3 separate regions of the Homo sapiens genome follow, and regions 1 and 2 are each linked to region 3. The links are contacts of gene promoters, found by promoter capture Hi-C in blood cells and fetal thymus (Javierre and others, 2016). All regions are on one chromosome and are shown on one strand. Each heading gives the region's core, a stretch centred on a gene start or on the middle of the fragment in contact. The rest is flanking DNA. Distances are from core to core; before and after follow the strand shown. Region 1 holds the start of IGBP1 (immunoglobulin binding protein 1). Region 2 holds the start of RLIM (ring finger protein, LIM domain interacting). Region 3 holds the start of PIN4 (peptidylprolyl cis/trans isomerase, NIMA-interacting 4).

The links. The method cuts DNA at HindIII sites, captures the fragments that hold promoters and counts their contacts. A CHiCAGO score of 5 or more calls a contact.
Region 1: the fragment with the promoter of IGBP1 here is called in contact with the fragment with the promoter of PIN4 in region 3 in 1 of 17 cell types (total B cells); the score reaches 6.1 in total B cells.
Region 2: a contact is called between the fragment with the promoter of RLIM here and the fragment with the promoter of PIN4 in region 3, in 1 of 17 cell types (total B cells). The highest score is 8.4, in total B cells.

What each region holds. Positions count from the first base shown.
Region 1 is chrX:70,132,114-70,134,840 of GRCh38, forward strand. It overlaps IGBP1 (immunoglobulin binding protein 1), which reads left to right and starts at 1,334. Exons shown (of 7, transcript NM_001551.3): 1 at 1,334-1,427; 2 at 1,610-2,022; 3 at 2,410-2,703. The coding sequence starts at 1,835. RefSeq lists an enhancer at 1,753-2,212. The HindIII fragment of the contact is 12,060 bases long and covers 353-2,727 here.
Region 2 is chrX:74,613,170-74,616,106 of GRCh38, forward strand. RLIM (ring finger protein, LIM domain interacting) reads right to left here and starts at 1,455. Exons shown (of 4, transcript NM_016120.4): 1 at 1,253-1,455. RefSeq lists an enhancer at 1,060-1,379. The HindIII fragment of the contact is 9,843 bases long and covers 1-2,937 here.
Region 3 is chrX:72,180,474-72,183,180 of GRCh38, forward strand. PIN4 (peptidylprolyl cis/trans isomerase, NIMA-interacting 4) reads left to right here and starts at 1,284. Exons shown (of 4, transcript NM_006223.4): 1 at 1,284-1,355. The coding sequence starts at 1,313. RefSeq lists an enhancer at 1,324-1,543. The HindIII fragment of the contact is 4,711 bases long and covers 1-1,302 here.

The DNA of each region.
Region 1 (2,727 bases), core at 84-2,583, 2.0 Mb before region 3:
TCTAGTTTGGGGCTTCAATCTGTCCCACATTAAAGGTCTTCATCTTTCTAAATCCTACCCAACTGAAGGTTAATGGAGTAGAAACAATTGAACGCAGAAGTCACTGACTTTGTCACAAACTGGCTGGACAAGTCCCTTAACCTTTCTGGTCTCAAGTTTTTCCTCCGATTTTGGGGGTTCCCTTTAAACTTTGACATTCTTCTATGTGACCGCATGTCATGTCTAAGAAGCCTTCTGAACTACTCCTAGCATGGGATGACTTGCCCTTTCTTGCTTTTCCAACAGCCTGTGCAATACAACATATCACCTATTTTATACTGTCCTATATTGCCCTCTAGTTGTTTTTTAATGAAGCTTTTTTTCTTCTCAACGATATGTAGTTTAAAATACTAGTTTAAAAGTTTATTTTCAGGGGTAGACAGTGTGCCTGCTACTTAAATCTCCTAGGACAATTCAGGCTGCGTCCTAAGGTAATCAGTATGTATTTATATTGCTTTGTTCAAAACAATGACGTCCCTTCTTTGAAGTCCTGAAATTATGTTTTCCATCAGTTCTGTCCAGTAGAAATATAATGGGAGCTACAAATATAGTTTTAAATTATCTGGCAGGCACATTTACAAAGTGAAAAGAAAGAAGTACAATTAATTCTAATAATATATTTAATCCAACATATCCAAAAGACTATCATTTCAACATGTAGTCCATGTAAAAAGTATTTACATTTTTCATTCTTTTTTTTTTAAATGTCTTTGAAATCTGGGGTGTTTTTTACACTTGCAGCACATCTCGATTCAAAATAGCCACTTTCAAGTGCTTAGTAACCACATGTAGCTAGTAACTACCTACTGAACAATGCTGTTCTGCATAAGTTGGCTGCTTTCCAAACTGATCACTTTTTTTTTTTATTCAGATAATGACTGATACTGAGTACTCAGGCTAGCCAGAGTGGTGCAAAGATGAGTCAAATTCATTCTGATAAGAGAGATTTGTAAGTCACTAGCAATTATACAGCGTGGTAGGTGCCATGATAGAGATGCATAGGAGAAACCCAGACTTGGCGGCTGAAGGGCACAGGGTGGAAGGCGGTAGAGAGACAAGGAAGGTTGCACAGAAATAACATTTGATGTAGGAACTAAGTGCACGAAGGGAAGCCGGCTGTGCGGTGACCGGAGTTGCAGGTTGCCAATCTTGCTGAGGGGGGCTCCACCGGACGCCGGCCTACGGGTCGTAGGCGTGTGTGGGGTGAAGGGGGAAGAGGACGGGAGAGGATTGGCTGGGAGGAACCCGGAGCTCCATCTGGTGGGTGGACGGAAACCGCAGGGGGGCGCTACTTGCACTTCGCGCTCAAGCGACCGGATCTTCAAACCGTGGGAGTGGTGCGGCGGCTAGAGTCCCTGGACTCCTCAACCTAGGGAGCTACTCGCGAGGTAAGGGGCGCGCCAGACTGGCTCCTAAAACGCACTCGCTCGTCCGCACTCCTCGCGCTCCGAATTCAGCCTCGCCTCACCCGGGCTTCAGAGCCCACAGAACTTCTCAGCCCCGTGTCGGCGACGAGGAGCTCATGGTAAAACAGCGCCTAGGGTTTTGCTTGTTTGTTTGCTTTTAACAGATGCCTACGACTTGTAACGGGCTGCCTGGTAAAATGAGTCTATGGAAACGGTTGCCAGGGCCGGCTAACAGCGGCTCCCGGAAGTCCTTTGATGCTTTGTTAACAGTGAAGCTACTGGACCAATGAGGTGCTTCTTCCGGTTTTGTCCGCGCTCGCCTAATTCTTCTTTATCAAGGTTGCCTTTGACCCCGGAAAAGAGATCTTCCGGGTTCCTCTCTCCCCAAGATGGCTGCTGAGGACGAGTTACAGCTGCCGCGGCTCCCCGAGCTGTTCGAAACTGGTAGACAGTTACTGGACGAAGTAGAAGTGGCGACTGAACCCGCCGGTTCCCGGATAGTCCAGGAGAAGGTGTTCAAGGGCTTGGACCTCCTTGAGAAGGCTGCCGAAATGTTATCGCAGCTCGACTTGTTCAGGTATGGGGGAAGATAGTAATAATGGCTGAGAACGAAGGTAATAATGGTTACCAAGGGTGGAGCCATTGCGCCTGAGTGGAGGGGACCTTTAGTGGTGAGAACGTTTCGTTCCTACTTACCACTGCGATCTTGTGTACATTGTTTACATTCCCCACCTCTCTTCCCAGATGGTTGATATCTTACGACTCTGCTTCCTAGCGTCTGCTGATTGCATAGGCATTGGGTGTGAGCCCTCAGCCACTTTCATTGAGTGAAACTGGCCGCTGTTCCCCGTGCCTCCTCCCTCTGGTCCACTCCCAGCCCAGCCTCCCACTCCGTCCCCCAGAAAGCAAGGGCCACAATTTGAATGCCTAGTCAGGCTTCACTGCCTCCTTTTTGCTCTTCCAGCCGAAATGAAGATTTGGAAGAGATTGCTTCCACCGACCTGAAGTACCTTTTGGTGCCAGCGTTTCAAGGAGCCCTCACCATGAAACAAGTCAACCCCAGCAAGCGTCTAGATCATTTGCAGCGGGCTCGAGAACACTTTATAAACTACTTAACTCAGTGCCATTGCTATCATGTGGCAGAGTTTGAGCTGCCCAAAACCATGAACAACTCTGCTGAAAATCACACTGCCAATTCCTCCATGGCTTATCCTAGTCTCGTTGCTATGGCATCTCAAAGACAGGCTAAAATACAGAGGTGGGTCAATAGCTATAATATGAG
Region 2 (2,937 bases), core at 205-2,704, 2.4 Mb after region 3:
CTTAATGGGGTGATAAGTAGTTACTCTGTCTATAATCACGAAGAATGAAAGAAATGATTAGTAGCAGTAGGTTTATTATTTCTTCCCCCTTTCAATCAGTCCAAAACACTGCGGTTAATTCTGATTCAGGAAATGCGGGCTCCTTACTTCTGGCAAAAAATCATTGTGGGGTCTTGCAAATGGAAGATGACAATCTGATACAACTGCTTCCTCTTGCCCCAAAATGAAAAAAAAAATGACCTCAATAACAAGACTGCTAGGCCTCAGATTCCCAGACTAACCTGTGGAATAAGTATGGTGAAACTGTCTAGGGAAGGAACGTGGCTGTCTCCTCCATCTTGAAATTAATCAGCATAAGGGAAAAAGGGACCGAGTATTCAGGAAGCAGAAGCCCAACCGGTTAATACTAGTTACTAAGCTATGGCATGCGTGGCAGGTACCGTCTGCAGAAGCAGAGACCCCCCTAGGCTTTTTTTTTTTTTTTTAATGGGGGAGGGATTGAGTTGTTGGTGGATTAAACACAAATTAACTTGAAAATTTGGCCCAATTCCATCCCTTATCCAGGAGAACACAACAAACACCTAACGGCTTTTCCCTCTCTTTTGCGGGGGGATCCTTCCAGTGATACCTGGCAAAGGATATGCCAGGGTTATTCGAGCAAGGGAGTAAACCACATTTGCCTCAGATCCTCAGGGAAGATGTCATCGCGGCCCCAGGGGGCGCCTAATTGGTAATACCCTGCAGAAGGGCTCAAAATGAGGTTTTGGAAATCTAAAGGCCCAAGAGTTGCCAGCATCTCACTTGGGGCAGCCTGATTTTTTACTTCCCTTTTCCCAAACCCAAGCCCGCCATGGAAAACGCGGGGAGGTCAGGGAAGCCTCCAGAGAACAGAGAAGAAAAAGCCTGAGACGTTCTAAGATTCTGACGCCTGAGGCCAAAACTCAAAAACTGCCTCCCCCGATTTCCTAAGGCTCCGGAGGGCCTGGGCTGCAGCTCGCGCGGCCACCGAGAGGAAGTACTACCCACCTCCTTCCCCTTCAAAGAGCCTGTCGACTATACCACTCAACTAAAATGGCAGCGGCGACTACGCCACGGAGCCCCCCGCAGCAACGGGCCTGGGGTCCGGAGGCGGCGCTGAGCCTCTGCCACGACGCGTCACTCGGGCCATTTTGAGAGAACGCGGCAGCCGCGGCTCCGCTGTCTTCCTCTCGCTCTACATCATTTCTCACAGGATTCCCAAGTCTTCACTTACTAGGTTTTAGGGTCAGGATCCGACTCGGTTGGTTCGGCCGCCGCCGCCGAGGCTGCTCCGCACCTCCCTGGCCGCCGCTCTCAAGCCCGCCTCCAATGAGTAGCTGGTTGAGACCCGCCTCTAGCCCAGCGCCTGCTCGGAGACGTTGCTCAGGCAGCCATTATCTTCCCCATTGTTACCAAGCAGCGACAGGAAACGACTGCCCACAACAGGAAGTGATGATGCCGCGTCCCGGCACCGCAGCCCCACTCCCAGCCTATTAGCCAATCCCAGTCGATTCCTCGAAAAGGCTCCGCGGGAGGAGGAGGGGGACGGCAGACGACGCGGCAAGGCGGGCGGCGGTTTGGAAAAGGAAAGCTGTTATGACGCCCACCATGTGACAGGCCCCACCCTCCTCCGCCATTTTGAATTGTGGCGAGAAATTTGCGTTCTGAGAATTGTGGGAACCTTCGCTTTCCCATTTTGAAAACTGAAGGACGTCACGGTCTGACTGCTTGAAGACATTTTCAGAGAGAGAGAAATGTGATATTAGTCTACCCTGACATCACATCAGTTCACACAATCCGTGCAGACCAGTTCAAAAAGTAGCCTGCGTTTTATTCAACATGTATTTACACAGTGCCAACTGCATGTCAAGCACCATTGTAGCTGCTTAGGAAATTAAAATAGACCAAAATTAAGAAAGAAAACAGGCCACGTTCGGTGGCTCACGCCTGTAATCCCAGCACTTTGGGAAGCCGAAGCGGGCGGATCACCTGAGGTCAGGAGTTCGAGACCAGCCTGGCCAACATGGTGAAACCCAGTCTCTACTAAAAATACGAAAATTAGCCGGGCGTGGTGGCGGGCGCCTGTAATCTCTGCTAATCGGGAGGCTGAGGCAGGAGAATAGCTGAACCCAGGAGGCGAAGATTGCAGTGAGCCGGGATCTCGCCACTGCACTCTAGCCTGGGTGACAGAGCAAGGCTGTGTCTCAAAAAAAAAAAAAAAAAAAAAAAGAAAACAGATCAAAATCCCAGTTCTCTTGAGTCTTTATAGGGGCCAGGGACAATAATTTAGAAAAAATCAAACATAAATACATATCATGTTAGTGATAAATGCCAAGGAGAAAAATCAAGGAAGGGGGACAGAAGAGTTCCTTGTAGGGACAAACGGATTCGTGATGTTTAAAAGACTGATAACTTTGAGGCATTAACTCTAAAGTATTCGAAAAAGGGCGGTGATTGTAAAAGGGTGGGAAAATCTGATAACGTTGGGATTTGTAAAAGGGCAGTTAAAGAAGGCCTTTCTTAGGTAGTAATGCCTGAAAGAATTGAGGGAACTCGCCACACAGCATGCCACTCCCATTGTCACAGTTAAAGGAAAACCTTACCCAAGTTTTTAGATTCTTTTCCTTTTCCCAATTTTTCTGTTTTCCAATAGCATGCCAGCTATGCTGGCTTTGTTACGGTTTTTCCAACAAAGCTAACTTCTTCCTACTTCAACTACTTTACCTTTGCTGGAATATTTTACTTTCATATCTTTGCTTTCATCATCCAAGCCTCGCAATTATTAACTTCCTAGAGAAGCCTTCCCTGACCACCCTACCTAAAATAACTTCTTCCTGAAGGCGGAAAAAGGTCTGAGGAAAAAAAAAAAAAGAAAAAAGTAATAACGACTTCTCCCATCTCCTTACCTGCTTACTTTTC
Region 3 (2,707 bases), core at 34-2,533:
ACTGGAGGAAACGCCCTGACATATCATATACAAATTATTGATGGTGGGAGGGATTGTAAGGGGAGAAAAAGTGTGTGGGCACAAATTCAAAAATCATTTATCTTAGGCAAACATTATTAATATGAGCAAGCCATCATTTTATGTGCTTTACAGATATGAACTTGTTTAATTCTCTTAACACCTGATAGGATAATAGTAGGTACTATTATCATCAACTCCATTTCACAGATGATGAAACTGAGCCAAAGAGAGGTGAAGTAACTTCCTCAAGGTCATGGAGCTAGTAGACAGATGTGGAGCAGGGATTTGAAACTGGGCAATCTGGCTCCAGAATCCATGCTTTTACTACACTATGCTGCACCATTATGGAAATTTTGGAAAATACACAGAAACAAACACGATGACCTGTATGCACTAGCACCACTGGCCACATCTTGCTCTATAGCTTTCCTCTCCTTTATATTCATATAACATACAATACATTACATATACTTCTTTTACAAGGAATCATATTCTTTATCTTGGTCTTAAAAACATTTCCCCTATCTGTACACACAGCCTTACAATCGTTATTTTGAATGTTGTATAATATCTTCTTGTGTGGCTAAAACATTATTTAAGCAGTACCCGACTGAGGAGCACTCAGACTGCTTCCAATGTTTCTCCATGACTGAGCTCTGCAAGACGCAAAAAGGTGACAGGCTTTTTTAAAAACTACCTTTTGAACCTAATTAGCTACAACTGCAGAATAAAATTAACAAACGAAAAACTGCCAGGGAGGGCAGCCCTGTGTGTAGGAGGAGACAGCGGAAGTTGGCCGCCACCACAGTACTCCTGCTTCCCTTTGTCTGGCGGCCCCGCGGGATTGGCCAGAGCTGGCGCCGAGGGACTGCAGAGCCACCCACCCCCGTGGCTCCTACTGCGCACGCGTGAAAAAAGCCAGGTTGAGGGGAACGGGGGAGCTTCGGGCGTAGAGTGTGGGGAGTGGGGGATCTGGTGCAAATTAGGGTGCGTGAAAGAAGTCACAAAAAGCGCAGAGGCCAGGCTTCCCGCCCTAATCCGGCCTTTGTCTCCGCCCCTCTGCCTTTGTTTCGGCCCAAGCGTCTTATTGGTCAGACATCTTCAGCCCCATTGGTCCAAGAGCCAAAGGACGGGGTCTGCCCCAAGCTGTGCCTGCTTCCGGAGCCGCAATAAGAACGGTCAATTGAGATGCGGCTTTCAGGCATTTGTTTAGGACATGCCCATGGCGGGGCTTCTAAAGGGGCTTGTACGGCAACTGGAGCGGTTCAGCGTTCAACAACAAGCTTCCAAGATGCCGCCCAAAGGAAAAAGTGGTTCTGGAAAAGCGGGGAAAGGTAGAGCGGCCAGAGCGATCAAGGAGAATGGGGGCGGGTGAGGAGCGAAGGGAGGGAACAGACAGTCCATCTCCGGAGTCCGGGACGGACGCAGCAGGTAGCCAGTGGCCCCACAGTGCTGCCATCGATTACATCTGTAGGAATACATTGGGCTACGGTTCAGGGACCGTCCTAGTGGGTAATGGAATCTGATGGGGATAGTTCCTCGGAGGCGATGACTTAGGGCTGCTATTTCAAGGGGTTATTAGAGCTCTAAAATTGGGTCTTATCAAAAGCCAGCAATAGGAAGTACACATTGGTTATGGTCCTTAAAGTTCACTTTAATGCTTACAGAATGACATGCCCACCATCGGGGAAGGAATCATTCATCCATTGAACAGAAATGTGTCAGGCAGAGTGCTAAGCGCTGAGGATACACAAATAAGACAGAAGGCTGGGCGCGGTGGCTCACGCCTATAATCCCAGCACTTTGGGAGGCCGAGGGAGGATGGATCACGAGGTCAGGAGTTCGAGACCAGCTTGGCCAACATGGCGAAACCCCGTCTCTACTAAAAATACAAAAATTCGCCAGGCGTGGTGGTGGTGCGCGCCCGTAATCCCAGCTACTCGGGAGGCTGAGGCAGGAGAATCGCTTGAACTCGGGAGGCAGAGGTTGCAATGAACCGAGATCGCGCCACTGCACTCCAGCCTGGGCGACAGAGCGAGCCTCTGTCTCAAAAAAAAAAAAGAGATTTTGGCCTTAAGGAGCTCCCGAAGTAGTGAGGAAGATAAAGGCTTAGTGATCATAAAGCACTGTACTAAATGTAGTGTTGAGGGATGTGTATGGGATATAATAGAAATTGAGGGAAGTCCTTCATTTAGCTGGGGAACAGGGAACGGAAGACTTCCTGGAGATGAATTAGGCAGGTCAAGATGTGCATTGAGGGTAGGTTAAAGCATTCCTTACTTGGGGTCCAGCAGCAAAAGCACTGAGGTGAGAAACAGCATGATGTGTGCAGCGTAGTGTTGCTGGAGCAAAAACTCAAGGCAGAATGGCAAGTGGTGAGAATGAAAACAGAAACAAAGACGAGATCATGGAGAGTGCTATATATTCTGCTAAGAAGGACAGTTAAGGATCAGAAAGACCTGTAAGGAGATTGTTGTGGTAGTCTTGGTGAGAGATGATGGTGGACTGACCTAAGGGAGTGGCTGTGGGAACTGAGAAAAGAGAAAAGATTCTGTAAATATTAGGATGTGAAATAGTCAAGACTTGGTGATTTATTGGGTTGGGGAGGGGTGGTGAGGGAGGATCAACGATCATTCTGTTTTCTGGATTGGATTTCTAACCTGTTGCTGGTCCTGCAGGGTAACAT